Linked DNA regions of Homo sapiens: all the other regions are linked to region 2. The links are contacts of gene promoters, found by promoter capture Hi-C in blood cells and fetal thymus (Javierre and others, 2016). All regions are on one chromosome and are shown on one strand. Each heading gives the region's core, a stretch centred on a gene start or on the middle of the fragment in contact. The rest is flanking DNA. Distances are from core to core; before and after follow the strand shown.

What was found. The method cuts DNA at HindIII sites, captures the fragments that hold promoters and counts their contacts. A CHiCAGO score of 5 or more calls a contact.
Region 1: a fragment that was not itself captured here is called in contact with the fragment with the promoter of PRRC1 in region 2 in 2 of 17 cell types (total B cells and naive CD8 T cells); the score reaches 6.1 in total B cells.
Region 3: a contact is called between a fragment that was not itself captured here and the fragment with the promoter of PRRC1 in region 2, in 2 of 17 cell types (naive CD8 T cells and M2 macrophages). The highest score is 7.1, in naive CD8 T cells.
Region 4: a contact is called between a fragment that was not itself captured here and the fragment with the promoter of PRRC1 in region 2, in 3 of 17 cell types (total B cells, endothelial precursors and M2 macrophages). The highest score is 6.7, in total B cells.
Region 5: a fragment that was not itself captured here is called in contact with the fragment with the promoter of PRRC1 in region 2 in 1 of 17 cell types (naive CD4 T cells); the score reaches 5.6 in naive CD4 T cells.
Region 6: a contact is called between a fragment that was not itself captured here and the fragment with the promoter of PRRC1 in region 2, in 1 of 17 cell types (non-activated CD4 T cells). The highest score is 5.6, in non-activated CD4 T cells.
Region 7: a contact is called between a fragment that was not itself captured here and the fragment with the promoter of PRRC1 in region 2, in 1 of 17 cell types (fetal thymus). The highest score is 5.6, in fetal thymus.

Annotation. Positions count from the first base shown.
Region 1 is chr5:126,848,388-126,851,087 of GRCh38, forward strand. No RefSeq gene overlaps it. Among named protein-coding and RNA genes, the nearest start is that of LMNB1, 73 kb to the left of the region's middle. The HindIII fragment of the contact is 7,004 bases long and covers 1-2,700 here.
Region 2 is chr5:127,516,296-127,518,995 of GRCh38, forward strand. PRRC1 (proline rich coiled-coil 1) reads left to right here and starts at 1,345. Exons shown (of 9, transcript NM_130809.5): 1 at 1,345-1,481. RefSeq lists a silencer at 1,213-1,282 and an enhancer at 1,343-1,522. The HindIII fragment of the contact is 4,735 bases long and covers 1-2,001 here.
Region 3 is chr5:126,824,161-126,827,068 of GRCh38, forward strand. LMNB1 (lamin B1) reads left to right here. Exons shown (of 11, transcript NM_005573.4): 9 at 1,828-1,947. Among named protein-coding and RNA genes, the nearest start is that of LMNB1, 48 kb to the left of the region's middle. The HindIII fragment of the contact is 6,087 bases long and covers 1-2,908 here.
Region 4 is chr5:126,642,218-126,645,248 of GRCh38, forward strand. No RefSeq gene overlaps it. Among named protein-coding and RNA genes, the nearest start is that of SPMIP10, 12 kb to the left of the region's middle. The HindIII fragment of the contact is 3,063 bases long and covers 1-3,008 here.
Region 5 is chr5:126,686,037-126,688,911 of GRCh38, forward strand. No RefSeq gene overlaps it. Among named protein-coding and RNA genes, the nearest start is that of SPMIP10, 56 kb to the left of the region's middle. The HindIII fragment of the contact is 4,504 bases long and covers 1-2,875 here.
Region 6 is chr5:126,771,193-126,773,892 of GRCh38, forward strand. The region is part of intron 1 of LMNB1-DT (LMNB1 divergent transcript); the gene reads right to left. Among named protein-coding and RNA genes, the nearest start is that of LMNB1-DT, 3.9 kb to the right of the region's middle. The HindIII fragment of the contact is 2,173 bases long and covers 347-2,519 here.
Region 7 is chr5:126,799,235-126,802,048 of GRCh38, forward strand. All of the region lies in intron 1 of LMNB1 (lamin B1), which reads left to right. Among named protein-coding and RNA genes, the nearest start is that of LMNB1, 24 kb to the left of the region's middle. The HindIII fragment of the contact is 6,808 bases long and covers 1-2,814 here.

The sequences.
Region 1 (2,700 bases), core at 10-2,509, 670 kb before region 2:
GAGGTGAATGCTTTGGGTCACTCAGGCAGACCTTATACCAGAAATCCCAGAGGGGACCTGAAGCTGGGCCCTTACCGGACCTTACAGCTGGGGAACACTGGGGACCCCACTGGGAGAAACCGACAGGGGCAGGGTCTGGAAACGCAGTGCTGCTCTGACATGTGGGGAGTACACACCAGCACGTGTTGGTCTCTGACACACGGGACACTTTCACTCTCACATAGGAAGGCAGAAAAGCAGCATAAGACCCATCAAGAGGAAGCAGGGTGAAAGGAAAGGGGGCAAACATTTATTGAATGTTCACTCATGCTTGAGTTGTCACATCAAACATTACCTTACAGCTCACAATACTGCATTATTAGTATTGTCCTTGTTTTGTAGATGGGATAACAGGCCCACAGGTTGTCATTTATTCACTTGTTCATTCCTTCACCAACCATTCACTGGGAGATTTAGTTTTGCCAGGCGCTACTGAGCAAGGCATCAAGAATACCAAGATGAGACAGCCAGTTCTTTTCTTGAGGAACTCAGTGTGATCACAGTTCTATTATCCTTGATGACTATGCCTATTCTGCTATCCCAGGGAGCTGTCAAAAAAAAAAATAACATAGCCAGTTTACTAATGAAAACGGTGCTATTAATTGTTGAAATGAATGGGAACAATTCCAACTGTCGGATAATCCCCAAATCCCTATTTAAAATCTCTGTTGTTTCTAATGTTCTTCAAATTAATGGCAAATGTAATAAACATTGTTTTCATGGTGAGGTTTAGAAAATGCTTTCTTGTATATTAGCTGATTTGCACCTCTCAGCGTATGAAGATGGACTTAGGAGCAGGAACAGCTCCAGCTCTTGCTCAATCTGCCTTCCTCCCACTATCGCATCGTAAGCTCTCAGATAAGGCAGAAAGCCACAGCCCTGGTAGAATGACCTTTCCTAAACTGGCTGTTTCAGGATGCACTTTCCCTGACATCAGGGAGGTAGTTAAGTGTTCTGATTTAAAACTCTCCTTTGGGGGGATAGTCACCTTTAGGTAAGCTAACACACCACCCAGCAAGTAGGTGAAAGCAGTTTGGACCCCAGTGATGCAATGTGTTACTGTATCTAGGAAGTGTTGAAAATGACCCAGAGGGTATGCAAGTACATCCAAGTTATCCTGATGGGGGTAGGGTGGGGATGCTGTGAATAACAGGAATTATTGGAACTGGTGATTCAGCTTTGATTGGAAAGGAAATAAAATAAATGATTTTTTAATGATAGAGAATTCAATTATAGTCATGGGTTATGTCCCAAATTTATACTTTCCCACATAGATGGGTCTTCTCCATAGATAGACTTCACGTAGAAAGAATAAACAGCACATTGTTTTTGCCTTTGAACTAGGTCTGTGAATGGAAAACCCTTGATAAGAGAAGTAGTTAATGACACTAAGTTGCTGTCACTTAGTGATGTAAGTCTAAAAAAGCTAACATTCCTGCATCTCAGTTTCCTTATCTGTAAATTGGAACTAAAGATCCTGTTACAAAGAGTTGATAGTGGAATAAATGAGGCCATGTAAGATGGTCATACCAATATAGTAGGTTGTAAAGAAATAGGAATTTAAAACTAATTAACTTAAAATTTTTTGATCACGGGAATTAAGATGGGAAGTAAGGTGAGGCTGTCCTGTTATAAAATGGCAGGGCTGTTAATTATTGTTGGCTTAAGTAAGTCTATTAGCAAAAATAGTGCCAGTCAGAATTAACATTTCTCCTGGGTTAAGTCAACTGAGTGGTTAAACAAGGAAGGCCATTGAGAACACTGGAAACACCACATTTTACTCATTTTATTAATAAATATTAATATTAATTAAACAAACTTTTTTTTTTTTTTTGAGAGACGGAGTCTCACTGTTGCCCAGGCTAGAGTGCAATACAGCCTCTGCCTTCCAAGTTCAAGCAATTCTCCTGTCTCAGCCTCCCAAGTAGCTGGGATTACAGGTGTGCGCCACCATTCCCAGCTAATTTTTGTATTTCTAGTAGAGATGGGGTTTCACCATATTGGCCAGGCTGGTCTCTAACTCCTGACTTCAAGTGATCTGCCCACCTTGGCCTCCCAAAGTGCTGGGACTACAGGCATGAGCCACTGTGCCTGGCCCACAACAAACATTGATTAATCACTTACTAAGTTGCATGCTGTGCACTGGCAATACAATGGTGAGCGAAAAGAAATTTCTGCCTGACCCTGGTTGGGGTGGGGGTGGGGGGCATCAATCAAATATTCACACCGATGTGTAGAACAACAACTGTGGTCAACTGCTGTTATAAAAGGCAGGCACCACACGGCACGCTTCAGGAGCACTGGTCTTTTATGGGAAATGGTCATTAGGAAAGAATTGTCTGGTAGGAGGCTGAGTTTCAAAGGTGAAGTTCTCGCCTCCGCAGTCATGACAACAGCTCCAAGGTTGGGGACGTTAAGGGGGAGGTTCAAATTCTTTGACTTCTCGTTAAGACGATTTGAGCTTATTAAAAACTGGCCATGATCTCTCAGAGCATTAGCTAAGGGATACAGCTGGTGATCCTGATAGGGCATTTTGCTCTAACCTTGGAAGAATCCGTCTAGACTCCAGCCAGAACTTGATTGCAGACAGAACAGTGGAGAAAGAGGGGCCACAGTCCTGCAGCCTCAGTCTGTTTCCCTGGTGTTCCTGAGTGGTCCTGG
Region 2 (2,700 bases), core at 95-2,594:
TCAGTGAGGTATTTTGGAATGCTTACAACTGTGAAGCTCAAGAGATAGATTAATGTGAAATCTCTAAGTGAGTTCCTGAAAAAAAATTGAGAACAACAAAAACAATTTTTTATATATTTAATGCTAAGCAATTTAAAAAATGTTTTCGGACAGGTGCGGTGGCTCACGCCTGTAATCCCAGCACTTTAGGAGGCCGAGGCGGGCCGAGGTCAGGAGTTCGAGACCAGCCTGGCCAAAATGGTGAAACCCTGTCTCTACTAAAAGTACAAAAATTAGCTGGGTGTGGTGGCCTGTGCCTGTAATCCCAGCTACTCGGGAGGCTGAGGCAGGAGAATCGTTTGAACCCGGGAGGCAGAGGTTGCAGTGAGCCGAGATGGCGCCATTGCACTCCAGCCTGGGCAACAGGGCAAGACACCATCTCAAAAAGACAAAAAGTTTAAAAAATTTTCATATGCTCTATTTTATTTGAGTCTGTCACCTGCCTGATTTAGGGATGGTGGATAGTATTATTCTCAGTTTGCAGGTAGAAATATGAAGACTTATGGAGACTAAGTGACCTGTACAAGGGCAGGCAACTGTACAACTGGCATTAGAGTAGTCTCAGACTCAAATCAAGACTTCTGATTTGAAGTTCCTTATTTTCCTCTATCGCACTCCATTAATTTATTTAATGTACATTATTGAACACCAACTATTTCAGGTACTGTGTTAGGTGCAGCATATAATAAGAAAGTTGATAATCTGTCTATTTTACAATTAAAAAAAGAATGTGCAATACATGCACTTGGGGAAAAATTCAGTACAGTAACTGCTACTCTTCTCCCCTCTCCCTCTTCTCCTAATCCCTCTCTCCTGATATAATCACTGTTATCTGGAAATCTTTGACTATACAGGCTAAGTCCCCTGTATCTGCCGCGAGGTCCTTCCTGGAGGTGCTGACTGGACTAGCTGATGTTGGCTAGATGACCGCCAACCAGATGACCTTGGCTAACTGATCTTATCCCTTGGGCCGCTGTGGCACAGGATGAGTGAGCTACGCCTGGTAACAAGAGTGCCACTCTCGTGTAAGGGGGCTGCGAAGTAGAAAGGAGGCCAGCCCTTTGGAAGATGTTTCTAGAGGGTGTGGGCAGAACCAAGTCTCGGTAGTTAGGAAGATCTTGGCTCCAAAGTTTAACTTGCAGCGTCCCGGCCGGGTTCACAGCGCATGGGACAGGGGGGGCGGGGCGATGCGGAGGCGGAGCGGGGCGATGCGATGCGGGGCGGAGCGGGGCGGGGCGGCGACGCGCGGCGCGGTGCGGCGCGCGGCCGACGTGGCAGCCGCAGGAGCATGCGCCGCCCGTGGCCATCTTGTAGGCGGGGACACGCCGAGGTAACTTCCAGGGTGCGCCTTCGTTGTCTTCTCCAAGCTGTAGTTCTACGTCCCGACCTCCCTATCATACCACACTCTTCAGCGACCACGCAGGCACTTTCCCGGTCCCCAGGTGAGCGCCAGGTGGCTCCGAGGGGCGTGTATGAGGGGGGTGGCATGGCATGGCATGGCTTGCAGGCGCCAGAGCCAGACCCCGAGGGACGGTGTCCCTGGAAGGTGGGCGGGCCGGCCGGCGCCACTGGACGCCGATGTCGTTTGCGAGCCCCCTAGTCCCGTGGTCCAGGCTCAGCTGTGGCGGCGTGCGGGGTGCAGCAGGCAGGAGTGCACATCGCAAGGTGAGCAGTTTCCGCTGGGGATGGCACGGTGGGCGCGGTTCGAGGGTCTCGCCCCGCGACACTTTGCTCCTGTCCAAGGACCAAGGCAGGAGCGCTCTGGCCCCACCTTCCAGGGCGCTGACTTTAGGGGAGACTGGCGGGAGCGCCGGCGGACCTTAGCCCGGCCCTGTCTGGCCTGGAGACGTGGCAGAGCCTGAGGGGAAGCCGCTGTCTCCTGAAACAGGATTTCGGCCGCTCTGGCCCTGGAGAGGCCCAGGAGGCTCGAGAGTCATCACACCAGGACCTGCAATGAAAGGAAGCTTATTTTCCCTGAGGTTACCCCATCGGTGCTTAGCGCCGCTTGGGAGAGTTTTTGCATTCTCTCGTTTCTTTGTTTGGTCTTGGGACCTGCTTCAGGCAAATTTGCAGATAGCACGTTTCCTAGATTGACAGAATTTATAGCCAATAGTGTTTTTGTCATTCGAAGTAGTTATTTTGAGAGACAACATGTGCATTTCTGCGATCGTGACACATCTTGGCATTCAGTCTTTCTCCTGTGCAGCCAGTGTTTAATTCAGTGAAAATTTATAAAATTTTATTTCGGGGTCAGATTAGGCTCTAACTAGCGCTCACTGTTTGGTAGTAGAGACAATCTTGTGGCACGAGTAGGTCAGCAATAATTGCTCTTAATGCTTTAAAGTTTATCAGAGCTTCACTCTTCCATTTCTTGTAAACTTGTAAATAGACATCCACTTTTTTTTTTTTTTTTTAACAGAAAAACCAAGGCACAAGCAAATTGGAACAACAGGGTCTAGCCGGACTGAGAACTCAGTTTTCCAAACCATTTTCTTCACTTTTTCTTTAGTGTTGATATATGAATAGTACTTTTCGTGACAAGACTTGAGCCCTAAAACAGTTACCAACTCTGACACTTCAGTATTGTTTTATCATAATAGGTTTTTTTAGTAGAAGGCACTATGTTTATGCATGTAAAATTTACCTCAGTATTGCCATTAC
Region 3 (2,908 bases), core at 51-2,550, 690 kb before region 2:
TAGTAATAAGTGATCTTTCTGTAAAATTGCAGAGGCAAAAGCAAAGATCAGTTTAAAACTCTAGAATAGAAATATGAGAACCACATGTGTAATTTTAAATTTTCTTATAGCCGCATTAAAGTAAAAAAGAAAGACATGAATTTTAGAACTATATTTTATGAAACCCAATATATCCAAAATATTGCTTTAACATGTAATCAGTCTAAAAAGTCAGATATTTTTACATTCTTTTTTTTTTATGTTTAGCTAAGTCTTCAAAATCTAGTGTGTATTTTACCCTTACAGCACATTCATTTCAGACTAGCCATATTTTAAGTGCTAACAAGCCACATTTTGCTGCGGTATTGAATGACATGGCTATAGGACATATTAGTTTTAGGTTAAGTTAGCCAGCAAGGATACTGACATTTTATGATGATGATTACTAACATAAATCAACTATGTGATTACATATAGGCTAGTGAGAAATATTGCTTACAATTAGGGAAACACTAACATTCCACATAGTCTGAATGTTGGACCAGATTCAGTTCTTTTTTTCAGTTTAATCCCAGTTAATATCTTGTGCCCTTTTCCATTTGTAATGCTGATGAAAGATCTGGATGCTTCAGGGGAACATCTCAAAAGTAAGGGCTCTCTCCTAATCAGTAATTCATAGATTTTTTTTTTCCTGTTTCCACCCCACCCCCCCACCCTTTCTTTTTTTTGATAGAGACAGGATTTCACCATTTTGCCCAGGCTGGTTTTAAACTCCTTAGCTCAAGTGATCTGCCCGCCTCGGCCTCCCAAAGTGCTGTGATTACAGGCTGGAGCCACTACACCTGGCCCCCATTTTGAAATAATACTTGGCTTTGCCATCTTCAGCTTTCCTTTTGCAGTCATAAAGTCTTTTATATTCTATAACAATGTATGGATTACAAACTTTTCTGTTTCTATTTGTTTTTAAATGATCTTTCTAAGAGATCAGGGCTAGTAGTATCCCTGTAGCTAAAGGCATTGAGTTTCCTAGAGGTGTAGTGATTTGTCCAGAATTCAAACCTAGGCTTTCTGACTGCCAGGTGTTCTTCACTCTATCCATTCTCTTTTGCCAGTAGATATATAAAAAGAATTTCATGCTCATGAGAAGGGAAATATAATTATTTCTTTGACCTATTTCAATAGCAATTATATTTTCCCTTGAACAGCGAGTGATTTATACATTTCCAGCATTCTTTTTGGAGCGCAGTCTCAGATACTCTAGGGTATTGTGACATTGTCTGTTTGGAGACGTACCAGTTTCCATAAGATTATTCTAGATAGGCTCTCTGCTGCAGAAGGTCTCTTTAGTTCTTGCTGTAGGCAGCCAGAGAACATTATTAGAGGGAGTCACAGAAGGCTCTAACATGGAAGGATGGCCTATAAAACCCACAGAGTAATAGAACGCTGAGGCTACCATTCACTGAGTTAGCCAGCCACTGAATGTGGGTTATCACTTGCTCTTTTCAATAATCGCACCTGTTACAGGTGCCATTTCTACCCTGTTTTATGGATGACTAAAGTAAGGTAACTTGCTCAGGGTCAGCTGGTGTGTAAAGGAACTAGGATGTGAGTGTAGGCAGTTTTACTTCAGGGTCTTATATATTATCATCTTCACTTATCAGATGGGGAAGCTGAGGCCTTGAGAAGCTCTGTGAGTTCTCCTGGCCACATAGCTGTGTATAGCACTCTGTAGCTGGGGCATAGTTCTCAGACTTTTAGAATCAAGTGTTTGAGTCTCATCGCATTGCTGTCGTTGGCGTGTGGGAGAACTGGGTTCTGGGTGTACTGACATGCTTTGGTTTTTTACAGATTTGGGCTGCAAACGCTGGTGTCACAGCCAGCCCCCCAACTGACCTCATCTGGAAGAACCAGAACTCGTGGGGCACTGGCGAAGATGTGAAGGTTATATTGAAAAATTCTCAGGGAGAGGTATGGCCAGTTTATCAGGACCACCACAATGTTAATTTCACTTAAAGTTCACTGTGCAAGTATAATCAAGATCAGATTGAAACGTGCAATAACCGATTGCATAAACAGACCAAAGCTGCTAAGTTAATTGAACTGAAGCTGTCTTTAAGTTTTAGGAATAAATAGGAGTGTATTATAGAGTACTGATTATTAGCACAGGCTCCAGAACAGATTTTCTGTGTCCTGTTTCTGTTTTCACTGCACATTAGCTTTGTGACTTTGGGCAAGTTACTTCACCTCTCTTAGATTTGTCATTTAAAAATGGATATTAATGACACAATATCCATGAGCTAATAATAAGAATGAGACAGTACTTGGGAAATGCTTGGAATAGTATCTGGCATAGTACCTTTATCTAGTAAATGCTTAAATTATTAACCTTGTTACTAGCTCTCAGAATGTTCATGAAACTGTGAGTTTGAAGATTGTGGAGTGTACATCTTCTTGGAGTGTGTGTTTTCAGTGTGTCAGTCTTAGAATCCTTGTCAAAGTACCTTACCTTCCCCATTGCCACATAAAGACACTGCATATACCCCTACCAATACTAGTCTTAGAAATACTACTTCCTAATAAAGCGGCTAAAGTGTGCTTTGAAGCTAGTAAAACATGGCTTCCTCCTTGTCTTTCCCTAGCGAATCACCTTATCCAGGTGCTGTACCACGCATCACTGAGCCTCTGTTTAGAATTTGAGTCCCTCCTTTGTTGCTATTGCCATAAGCATGTTAATGGAGCTTTTGTTGTGAGTTCAGCATGGTTTGTTCTTCTCATTTTCCTTTTAGTTGTAATACTGCTTTTTCATCCTTTGCCTACCAGGAGAGCTGTAAGTTGGCTTGCAAGGAAGCCATTGGTCATAACCTTGTTCTGACATGCTTACTGATTCTGACCTTTTCACCCAGTTTCCAGGCTGGCAGGCTCTGCTGTT
Region 4 (3,031 bases), core at 227-2,726, 870 kb before region 2:
CATGGTGTTAGAAAAATGGCACCAATGACTTACTCAACACAGGGCTGCCACAGATCTTCGATTTGTAAAAAACAGTGTCTGCAAAACACAAGAAAATGAGGTATGCTTGTGATTCTTTTTATATGCTGCGGGATATGATTTGATAGTATTTTGCTGAGGACTTTTACATCCATATTCAAAAGGGATATTGCTCTGTACTTTTCTTGTGATATCATTGTTCAGCTTTGCTATCACGTTAATACTGGCTTCATAGAATGAATTGGGAAATATCCTTCCTATTTTTTGAAAGGGTTTGAAAAGAATTGGTATAAATTCTTCTTTAAATGTTTGGTAGAATTGACCAGTGAAGCAATCCGTAGCCTGGGCTTTTCTTTGCAGTTAGGTTTTGGGTTACTTATTCAATTTTTTACTTGTAGTAAGTCTATTCAGATTGTCTTTTTTTTTTCCTTGAGTGAGTTTTTGTTATTATTATTATTATTTTTTTTTTTGAGACAGAGTCTCACTCTGTCTCCCAGGCTGGAGTGCAGTGGCGCGATCTCGGCTCACTGCAATCTCTGCCTCCTGGGTTCACGCCATTCTCCTGCCTCAGCCTCCTGAGTAGCTGGGACTACAGGCGCCCGCCACCAGGCCCGGCTAATTTTTTGTATTTTTTTAGTGGAGACGGAGTTTCACTGTGTTAGCCAGGATGGTCTTGATCTCCTGACCTCGTGATCCGCCCACCTTGGCCTCCCAAGGTTCTGGGATTACAGGCATGAGCCACCGCGCCCGGCCCGAGTTTTTATTATTATTGATAATATTAAAAATAAATAACGCTGAATTAATATGAATATAGTTGGATTTATATTTGCCATTTTACTGTGTTTTCCATATGCCTCATGTCCTTTTTGTTCCTCAATTTACATTTACTGCTTTCTTTTGAATTAAGTGAATTTTTTTTTTTTTTTTTTTTGGTGAGATGGAGATTTACTCTTGTTGTCCAGGCTGGAGTGCAAAGGCGCGATCTCTGCTCACTGCATCCTCCGCCTCCAGGTTCAAGCGATTCTCCTGCCGCAGCCTCCCTAGCAGCTGGGATTACAAGCATGTGCCACCACGCCCGTCTAATTTTGTATTTTTAGTAGAGTCGGGGTTTCACCATGTTGCCCAGGCTGATCTCGAACTCCTGACCTCAGGTGACCCACCTGCCTTGGCCTTCCAAAGTGCTGGGATTACAGGTGTGAGCGACTGCGCCCGGCCTAAGTGAATATTTTCAAAGTAGCACTTTAATTTATTTAATAGTTATTTAATACATTTTTTGAATTATTTCTTTAGTGGTTGCTCTCAGGCTTACCATATGCAACTTAATTTATCAACTTCAGATTTCAACTAATTTAATTTCAGTGAGATATAGACCTGTTACTCCGATATAGCTCTATTTCTTGCCCCCCATTTTTGTGTTATTACTGTTACACATATTACATTTTTAAATGTTACAAATACAACTGTACATTGTTATAATCATTATATAATTTTATGTCTTTTAAAGAAGCTGAAAGAAGGAAAGATAGCAAGTATATATTCATAGCTTTTGTTATATCAACCTTCTCACTTATCATTTCTGGCTCTCTTCATTTGTTCCTGTGGATTTGAGTTACCATCTGGAGTCATTTCCTTAGTCCAATACAGCTATGCTACCACCCATCTCCTTTGGGCTGTTATTAGCAAATATATTTCTTGTTTTTTTAAATTGTTAATGTTTTTTTTTGAGACACAGTCTCACTCTGTCCCCCAGGCTGGAGTGCAGTGGTGTGATCTTGGCTCACTGCAACCTCTGCTTCCCAGGTTCAAGCGATTCTCATGCCTCAGCCTCCTGAGTAGCTTGGATTACAGGCATGTGCCATCACACCCTGCTAATTTTTGTATTTTTAGTAGAGACAGGGTTTCCCCATGTTGGCCTAGGCTAGTCATGAACTCCTGACCTCAGGTGATCCACCTGCCTCAGCCTCCCAAAGTGCTGGGGTTACATGCGTAAGCCACAGCGCCCATCCAGGCAAATATATTTGTTTATGTTATAGGTCCCAAAATACAGTGTATACATATTATTTTATACCATTGCTGTTTAAATCAGTTAAAAAAATAAAGCAGAAGAAATATGCATTTATACTATCTTGAATAATTACATAATTACACTTACTGGTTGTTAGGGACCAAATGTTTTTGTCCCCTCAGATTAAAAGATTGAAACCTAAACTCCCAATGTGATTGTATTGGGAAGTGAGTAGGTTTAGATGGAGTCATGAGGGTGGAGCCCCCATGATGGGATTAGTGTCCTTATAAGAAGAGAAAGAGGGCTGGGGCACAGTGGCTCACACTGTAATCCCAGCACTTTGGGAGGCCGAGGTGGGCGGATCACCTGAGGTCAGGAGTTCGAGATCAGCCTGGCCAACATGGTGAAACCCCGTCTCTACTAAAAATACAAAAATTAGCTGGGCATGGTGGCACATGCTTGTAATCCCAGCTACTCAGGAGCCTGAGGCAGGAGAATCGCTTGAGCCTGGGAAGCAGAGGTTGCAGTTAGCTGAGATTGTGCCACTGCACTCCAGACTGGCCAACAGAGCGAGAGTCTTTCTCAAAAAAAAAAAAAAAAAAAAAAGAAGAGAAAATGACCAGAGCTCACTCACTCTCTCCACCATGTGATAACACAGCAAGAAAGTGGCCATCTGCAAGCCAGGAAGAAGGCTCTCACCAGGAACTCAATCTTCTGGCACCTTGGCCTTGGACTTCCCAGATTCCACAACTGTGAGACATGAATGAATGTTGTTTAAGCCACACAGTCTACTGTATTTTGTTACAGCAGCCAGAGCCAAATAAGTCACTACTGCTCTTTGTGTAGATTCAGATTACCTTCTGAGATTCATTTCTTTTAGTCTGAAGAACGTCCTTTACTTTTTTTAAGGCATGTCTACTAGCAAAGAATTGTCTTAGTTTTTGTTAATCTGGGAAATCTTTATTTCACCATCATTTTTTAAAGAAGCTTTGGTGGATATAGGATTCT
Region 5 (2,875 bases), core at 150-2,649, 830 kb before region 2:
AAGAAAAAACAAAATAAAATAATAAAGTAAAATGAAATAAATTAAGACACATATTCTTTGACCAAGCAATTCTACTTCTAGCTGTGTATGTTAGAGATGTGATCACATACTTCTGAAAAGACACATACACAAGATTATAGTATGTAAGTAGTATGGTATGTAATAGCAAAAGATTGGAAGCAACTTAATACACAATAATAATAGAGTAATGGCCAAATAACCCGTGGAACATCTATTATAAACATCCATTAAAAATAATAAGGCAGATTTGCAAGATACATGATTAAAAGAAAAAGGCAAAGCGTAGAATGATTTGTATAGTAACTACCATTTGTGTAAAAACAATGAGAGAGACAGAATCCATGCATGTATGTTTGTAACTGCATGGAATATCTCTGCAAGTATATATGGCAAATTGATAAATATCATTGATTCTGGAAAGAAACTGGGTGGCTGGAGAATAAGAGTGGAAGGAGACTTTTTTTTTTTTAAACCAAGTATTTTAGCTTGAGTTTGTGGGAATCAAACTCTGAGATAGAAATGAGTGCAGAAGATTTGTTGGGGAGTGTTCTCTGGAGATAACACCTGCAGGAAGTGAGGAAAGCAGCACTTTTTCTTTTTTTAATGTGGGGCAAGTACAGCTGTCCCCAGGGCTCTGGGAGTTCTCTATGGTCTGTCAGGGAATCCCTGGGGGCTAAGACTGCAGTGGCCAGGTTTTGTGCTTATTTACTGGGGGGTGGATTGAGGGAAGAGCTATGTACCCTTGGAGTACCCTGGCCTGACCATCTTTCAGGACACGTCTTGGTCAAGGCTGTCCACCTGTTGCCCTTGGTCCTTGGGCACTGGGAGCCATGGTTGCTGCTGCCTGTCCAGCTGGGCTCCCTTCCTAGGCCTGCCTGAGACCAGAGGCCTTAGAAACCCACAGTGCAGTTGCAGCTGAGAACTCAGCCTGCTCTACAGTTCTGTGATGAGCTCTGGAGTTGGGATGGTCCTTCAGCATCATAACAAATTGAGGTAAGAAAAACAGGAGTTTGTGCCCCCAACCCCTGCAGCCCATCACTGGCCTAGGGCTGCCCTCTGGGAAGGCCCTGGGAAAGGTAGCTCCATGCGGTTCACCCATTGACATTCCCCACAGCAGGGTTAGGGATTTCAGAGCCCTGAAGAAGATCCGGGCAGAGCAACTTCAAGTTTGTTGAAAAATAAAATAGAGGCTGGGCGTGGTGGTTTACACCTGCAATCCTAGCATTTTGGAGGGCCGAGGTGGGTGGATCACTTGAGGTCAGGAGTTCGAGACCAGCCTGGCTAACATGGTGAAACCCTGTCTCTGCTAAAAATACAAAAATTAACGAGGCATGGCAGCACGTACCTGCAATCCCAGCTACACGGGAGGCTGAGGCAGGAGAATCACTTGAAACCAGGAGGCAGAGGTTGCAGTGAGCCAAGATCGCCCCATTACACTCCAGCCTGGGGGACAAGAGCAAAACTCTATCTCAATAAAAAAAGAAAAAGAAAATAGAATAGCTTGCGTATGGTGGGCAAGGAGCCAGTACTCTACTCTGAAATTATAGAAGGCTGGCACTGAAAGCCCTCCTTTGAAATTGTCTTTGGGGGCCGGTAGCCTTCTTTTCTTTAAACAGATTACTCTGACATTGGTTCGACCTCCTAGCCCTGTCTCATCCAAGAGGGTCTTTCTATTCCTTTGAGGCCCCCATTCTCCCTCAGGTGACAGAAGAGGAAAGAGAAATAACCAAAGTGACTTGCCTTGAGAAAGCAGTTTACCACTCTACTTTAAATGCCATATTTTATCTCCCAGTCTAATTTTAGCTAGAGATTCTTAGCTACATCTAACTATCTAACTTGAATCCATTATGGTATTTTCTGTTTTTTTGTTTTGTTTTGTTTTGTTTTTTTGAGACACAGTTTTACTCTGTTGCCCAGACTGGAGTACAGAGGCGCAATCTTGGCTCACTGCAACCTTCGCCTCCTGAGTTCAAGCGATTCTCATGCCTCAGCCTCCCAAGTAGCTGGGACTACAGGCATGCGCCACCATGCCCAGCTAATTTTTGCATTTTTAGTAGAGACAGGGTTTCACCATGTTGGCCAGGCTTGTCTTGAACTCCCGACCTCAAGTGATCCTCCTCCCTTGGCCTCCCAAAGTGCTGGGATTGCAGGTGTGAGCCACTGTGCCCGGCCTTATTATGTTTTAAAAGGAGTTTGGTATCTTTTTCTTTGTGCTCTTTTACTTCCTTATTTATAAAGTTTAATAATTCACATGTTGCCTAGATTCTTCAACAAACAAATGAGATTTTTTTTTTTTTTTTTTTTTGAGATGGAGTCTTGCTCTGTCACCCAGGCTGGAGTGCAGTAGCACGATCTCAGCTCACTGCAACCTCTGCCTCCCCAGTTCCAATGATTCTCTGCCTCAGGCTCCCAAGTAGCTGGGATTACAGGCACATGCCACCATGCCAGGCTAATTTTTTTACTTTTAGTTGAGACAGGGTTTCACCATGTTGGCCAAGCTGGTCTTGAACTCCTGACCTTCTGATCCACCTGCCTCGGCCTCCCAAAGTGCTGGGATTAGGCATGAGCCACCATGCCCAGCCACAAGTGAGATTTAAAAAGATTTAAGAGACAAAGGAAATAGTGAAACTTATTTAATCCTGGGGCAAAAAAAGAAACAAACAAACAAAAACCCACCAAAAACCCACCAAAAACCCACTGCAGGCCAGGTGACCTGGCTTATGCCTGTGATCCCAACTCTTTTGGGAGGCTAAGGCAGGAGGATCACTTGAGCCCAGGAGTTTGAGACCAGCCTGGGCAACAGAGGGAGACCCCATCTCTACAAAAAATTTAAAAATTACAGGCGTAATGGAAT
Region 6 (2,700 bases), core at 183-2,682, 750 kb before region 2:
CTCCTAAGCTTTTTTTTTTAACATGAAAATCAAAATCAGACTTGGAAGACATTCTGGATAGTCACTCAACCTTCTAAAACATGATGTCTACACTTTTATAATAACTGGAAAAAGTATCAAGTTTGTAAAATATATTTAGTCGAACAATCTGTTCCAGGAGAAGATCATGTATTCAGTTATTTCTTCATTCATCCATTCAGCAAACATATATTGAAGAGATACCATTTAGCAATTTTTTATTTCATTTTGTGTCGCAGTCCTAGCTATCCTATTTGTTTGCAATGTATACTCAATTTATCTGCCAGCTGTCACTCCCCTCTCCCAAGACAAAAGTGGGTTACTGCTAAGCTTTCAGTCTCTCCTCCCCATTCCTTCTCACCCCATCCTAGTATGGCCCCTTCTCCCCAGATGTCTTATGTATCATATATTTTTCTGTCCCAGATCCAAATGACATACATAAAGTAGGACAAATGTCAATTAAGTTCTTTACATGTAGTGAGGTAGTTGTAGGAGGAGTATGGACAAGGGAAAATGATGGCATGGCATTTTGAGACTTGGTGGGGATATATATGGTCTAACCAATAATCAGGACATGTGCCCTGACAAGTAAATGGAGGTGTATAGTAAAAACAAAGGCAGGATATTTGAAATCACCACTATCCTAGTAAATGCAGAAGTGTTGTCACCAAATTTACAAATTTGTTACTTCTAATTCATTGGGGAAAACTTTGGAGGGATAAGATTTCAGGAATTACTTGAATAAAGGGAGCTTGACTAACTTAGTATGAGAGAACAGAAGGCCATAATCCAGGTTTAGCATTAGGTATGGGAAACACCTAGAGAATAAGGAAAGTGTATATTTTGTAAAGTAGCTGACCAAAAATGTGCACAATTGTCTAATTCTTGTGTGTGTGTGTTTTGTTTTTGTTTTTTTTTTTGCTACGGAGTTTCACTCTTGTTGCCCAGGCTGGAATACAATGGCACTATCTCGGCCCACTGCAACCTCTGCCTCCCAGGATCAAACGATTCTCCTGCCTCAGCCTCCCGAGTAGCTGCGATTACAGGTGCCCACCACCATGCCTGGCTAATTTTTTGTATTTTTAGTAGAGATGGAGTTTCACTGTGTTGGCCAGGTTGGTCTCAAACTCCTGGCCTCAAGTGATCCACCCACCTTGTCCTCCCAAAGTGCTGGGATTACAAGGGTGAGCCACTATGCCCGGCCACAATTACCTAATTCTAAGGCTTCAAGATTTTCCATTCTTTTTCCTTGATTTTCAATGGAAACACATGATTACTATTAGTAAGCGTTACTATTTAGCCTTCACATGTTGTATGTCTAACACACTGCATATATTGTTTTATTAAATCTTTACAAATCCTGTGCAAGGTAAAAACCATTCCCATTTTCTTTTCTTTCTTTCTTTCTTTTTTTTTTTTTTTTTTTATGAGACGAGTTTCGCTCTTGTTGCCCAGCCTGGAGTGCAATGGCACGATCTTGGCTCACTGCAACCTCCACCTCCCAGGTTTAAGCGATTCTTCTGCCTCAGCCTCCTGAGTAGCTGGGATTACAGGCATGTGCCACCACGCCCGGCTAATTTTATATTTTTAGTAGAGATGGGGTTTCTCCATATTGGTCAGACTGGTCTCGAACTCCCGACCTCAGGTGATCTGCCCACCTCGGCCTCCCAAGGTGCTGGGATTACAGGCGTGAGCCACCGCGTCCGGCCCCCATTTTCTTTTTCTTTCTTCTCTTTTTTTGAGACGCAGTTTTGCTCTTGTTGCCCAGGCTAGAGTGCAATGGTGCCATCTCAGCTCACCATAACCTCTGCCTCCCAGGTTCAAGCGATTCTCCTGCCTCAGCCTCCCAAGTAGCTGGGATTACAGGCATGCGCCACCACGCCCAGCTAATTTTGTATTTTTAGTAGAGACGGGGTTTCTCCATGTTGGTCAGGCTGGTCTCGAACTCCCGACCTCAGGTGATCCACCTGCCTTAGCCTCCCAAAGTGCTGGGATTACAGGCATGAGCCACCGAGCCCGGCATGTGTTTTTTTGTTTTGTTTTGTTTTTGAGACGGAGTCTCGCTGTGTCGCCAGGCTGGAGTGCAGTGACGCGATCTCGGCTCACTGCAACCTCTGTCTCCTGGGTTCAAGAGATTCTCCTGCCTCAGCCTCCTGAGTAGCTGGGACTACAGGCGCGCACCACCATGCCCAGTTAACTTTTTTGTATGTTTAGTAGAGACGGGGTTTCGCCGTGTTGGCCAGGATGGTCTCGATCTCTTCACCTCGTCATCCGCCCGCCTCAGCCTCCCAAAGTGCTGAGATTACAGGCGTGAGCCACTGTGCCCGGCTCCATTTCCATTTTCCTTGAAGGAAATCACGGAATAATTTTCTTAAAGTTATACAGCTATCAGTAGCACATCCTCAATTGTCTGACTCCAAGAAAGTTGTTTTATATAATAGGATATGTATAATGTGAGCCTCTTCAAATAATCTGAAAATTGAGGAACTCTATCAATAGAAAGCTTCAGGCCGGGCGTGGTGGCTCACGCCTACGATCCCAGCATTTTGGGAGGCTGAGGCTGGTGGATCACGAGGTCAGGAGTTGGAGACCAGCCCGACCAACATGATGAAACCTCGTCTCTACTAAAAATACAAAATTAGCCCGGTGTGGTGGCGCAGGCCTGTAATCCCAGCTACTCGG
Region 7 (2,814 bases), core at 78-2,577, 720 kb before region 2:
GTCTCGATCTCCTGACCTCGTGATCCGCCTGCCTCCCAAACTGCTGGGATTACAGGCGTGAGCCACCGCGCCCGGCCGCGATGCATTGACTTTTTCACTGTTAATATTGTGGCCTAAGGAGGAAGAGGAAAAATATATGAACACAGAACAATTTGTTTGTGGAGTTAAAGGGCTCACAAGGTAAGGACAGCTGTAAGAACTGTCTGCCCTGAGCTCCCAGTGCAGGTAGCCCCACAAGTCCCTTTTCATCATTTTACTTCAGCATCTGCAAGATAAGTCTTTATGCTACCTAGACAGCTACACACCTAAGTGTGGTGACATGGCCTAGTGCCTGACCCTGAGCAGTAAAGGTACTGAGGGTCCAGAAGAAGGAAGGGAATACTAAAAACGCACTTAGTTGGGACCCTGTCTTATTTATTTATCTTTCTCTTCCTGGTAGTACATAGTAGATACTCAGTAATGTCTGCTGGATTAGGTAAATATGTCTCAAAACTAGGGACCTGGACTGAGCCTTTCCGCACCGTCTCGAAACTCTCCTGTGTACCTGTGCATAAGAGTGCATATAAATGCCACTGTACATTTGTGTGGGTTAGAAAAAGCAAAAGTGTGTTCATAACCTCTTATGAGAAGAGACTATAAATTACTTTGCACCAAGGGCGGTAGCTGACTCTTGAGTTCTCTTCAGTGCCTGGTACAATGCCTGCTGCCCACCTGCTTGTGAAGGCTGTGGTGGCTTGTACAGGCACTGCAGGGCAGATCTAGATTGACTATTTGGGTCTCAGAATAACCTGGGTCCTCTGTAACAGAGGCTGAGTACTTATCTTTTCATGAGTTGTTATATTAAAGTAAAATTGTAAGCACTGCTTTCCTGTGGCTTGCTTCTTTCATTTTTTAACAGAAATTTTATTGAGTATCCCCACCCTATACCAGACATTGCCAGGCACTGAGGATCTGAAGGTAATCTCATTTTACCCACATTCCAGTGTAGGAGACAGACATGGAATCTTAAATTTTAAAAAGATGTATATACCATGCACCATATGAGAATGATGCACCAAGTGCTGTGGAGCCCAGAAAGGTACATGATTTTTTTCTGCTAGGAGAGGTAAAGCAGGGAAGCATTACAGAGGAAGGATGACATTTGTTCCATCCTTGGTCTTAGTTTCCAATGGCAGTTGGTTAGGAATTAGATGGAGTTAGGAATGGGAATAGATGGCATGGAGTGGGGGAGAGTGAAGTCCGAGGCTCAGAAGGTCTTTAGGACTTAGACCTGAAGGGCTTTCTAGGGGGACTGCCATGCCAAGGAGCTTGCATATTTCTTGGTGGTCAGAAGTTTTCAAACTGTTTTGCAGAAAACTAGGACTGTTGGGATGGGGCTTGATGGGACACTGGACCCTACACTGTATCTTCTTTTTTTTTTTTTTTTTTTTTTTTTGAGACGGAGTTTCACTCTTGTTGCCCAGGCTGGAGTGCAATGGCACAATCTTGGCTCACCGCAACCTCTGCCTCCCGGGTTCAAGCGATTCTCCCGCCTCAGCCTCCTGAGTAGCTGGGATTACAAGCATGTGCCATCACGCCTGGCTAATTTTGTATTTTTAGTAGAGACTGGGTTTCTCCATGTTGGTCAGGCTGGTCTTGACCTCCCAACCTCAGGTGATCCGCTTGCCTCGGCCTCCCAAAGTGCTGGGATTACAAGTGTGAGCCATTGCAGCCAGACTATATATATATATATATATATATATATATAATTTTTTTTTTTTTTTTTTGGTGGTAGGGTCTCACTCTCTCACCAAGGCTGGAGTGCAGTGGCACGATCAGGGCTCACTGCAGCCTCGACCTCCTGGGATCAAGTGATTCTCCCGCCTCAGCCCCTCTAGTAGCTGGGACTACAGGCATGTGCCACCACGCCTGGCTAATTTTTTTTATTTTTAGTAGAGATGGGGTCTCACCGTGTTGCCCAGGCTAGTCTCCCTTCCAAAGTGCTGGGATTATAGACGTGAGCCACCGCACTTGGCCAAGAAGTAATTTATAACAGAACAATTTATATTTTCATAGAACAGTGTTTTATGTGACTAAGAACTTGACATAAAATGAACAGTAGAAGCATTAGTCATGATTGAAATTAAAGCTCCTATAAAATTTCCACTGGTATCATTGGGTGGCCCTCAGGGTACCACAAGTAAATACTCTCTTCATCCCCTGTCCTCCTTATCTTCTTTGGTTTTTATTTTTATGGAAGAAATCACCATATTCTAGTCATCTGGATGTACTGCCTTGGGTTAATTTTTGGCTTCTTGTGTTTTCTACACTCCACAAGATGTTGAACACAGTATCTTTCACTTGGTAGTATGACATCTTGAGTTTTGAGCTATTTGCATGTATTACTTATTAAATCTGTGAAGTCAAATAAACAAGAACAATACTGCATAAAATATGCCGATTTTACAGGTTGTTCCATACAATAACTTGTAAAGTTGACATGCTGTTTTATGCAGTATCATTCTTGCTGGACCATTTTGGTCCCTGGAAGGCACAGGTCATTCTCCTGCCATGAGGCAGGATCACATTGAGAAGTACCACATTATGACCTGAGCTTTAAAAATTACTGTTTGTAATTGTTAAGTAATTAATTTTGAGTCAGTAGCTTTTGTAAGTATTGTGTAATACTGCATTTAAAATATGGTTTTATTTTCAGTCATATGTCTTATGACATGTATCCTAGCCCTTCTGGTAGTTTTATAGTGGGGCAAAATAGAGACTCCTTCACAAGTGTCAGTTCATTCCTGTGGAGACCCAGCACTTGTGTGAACTAGG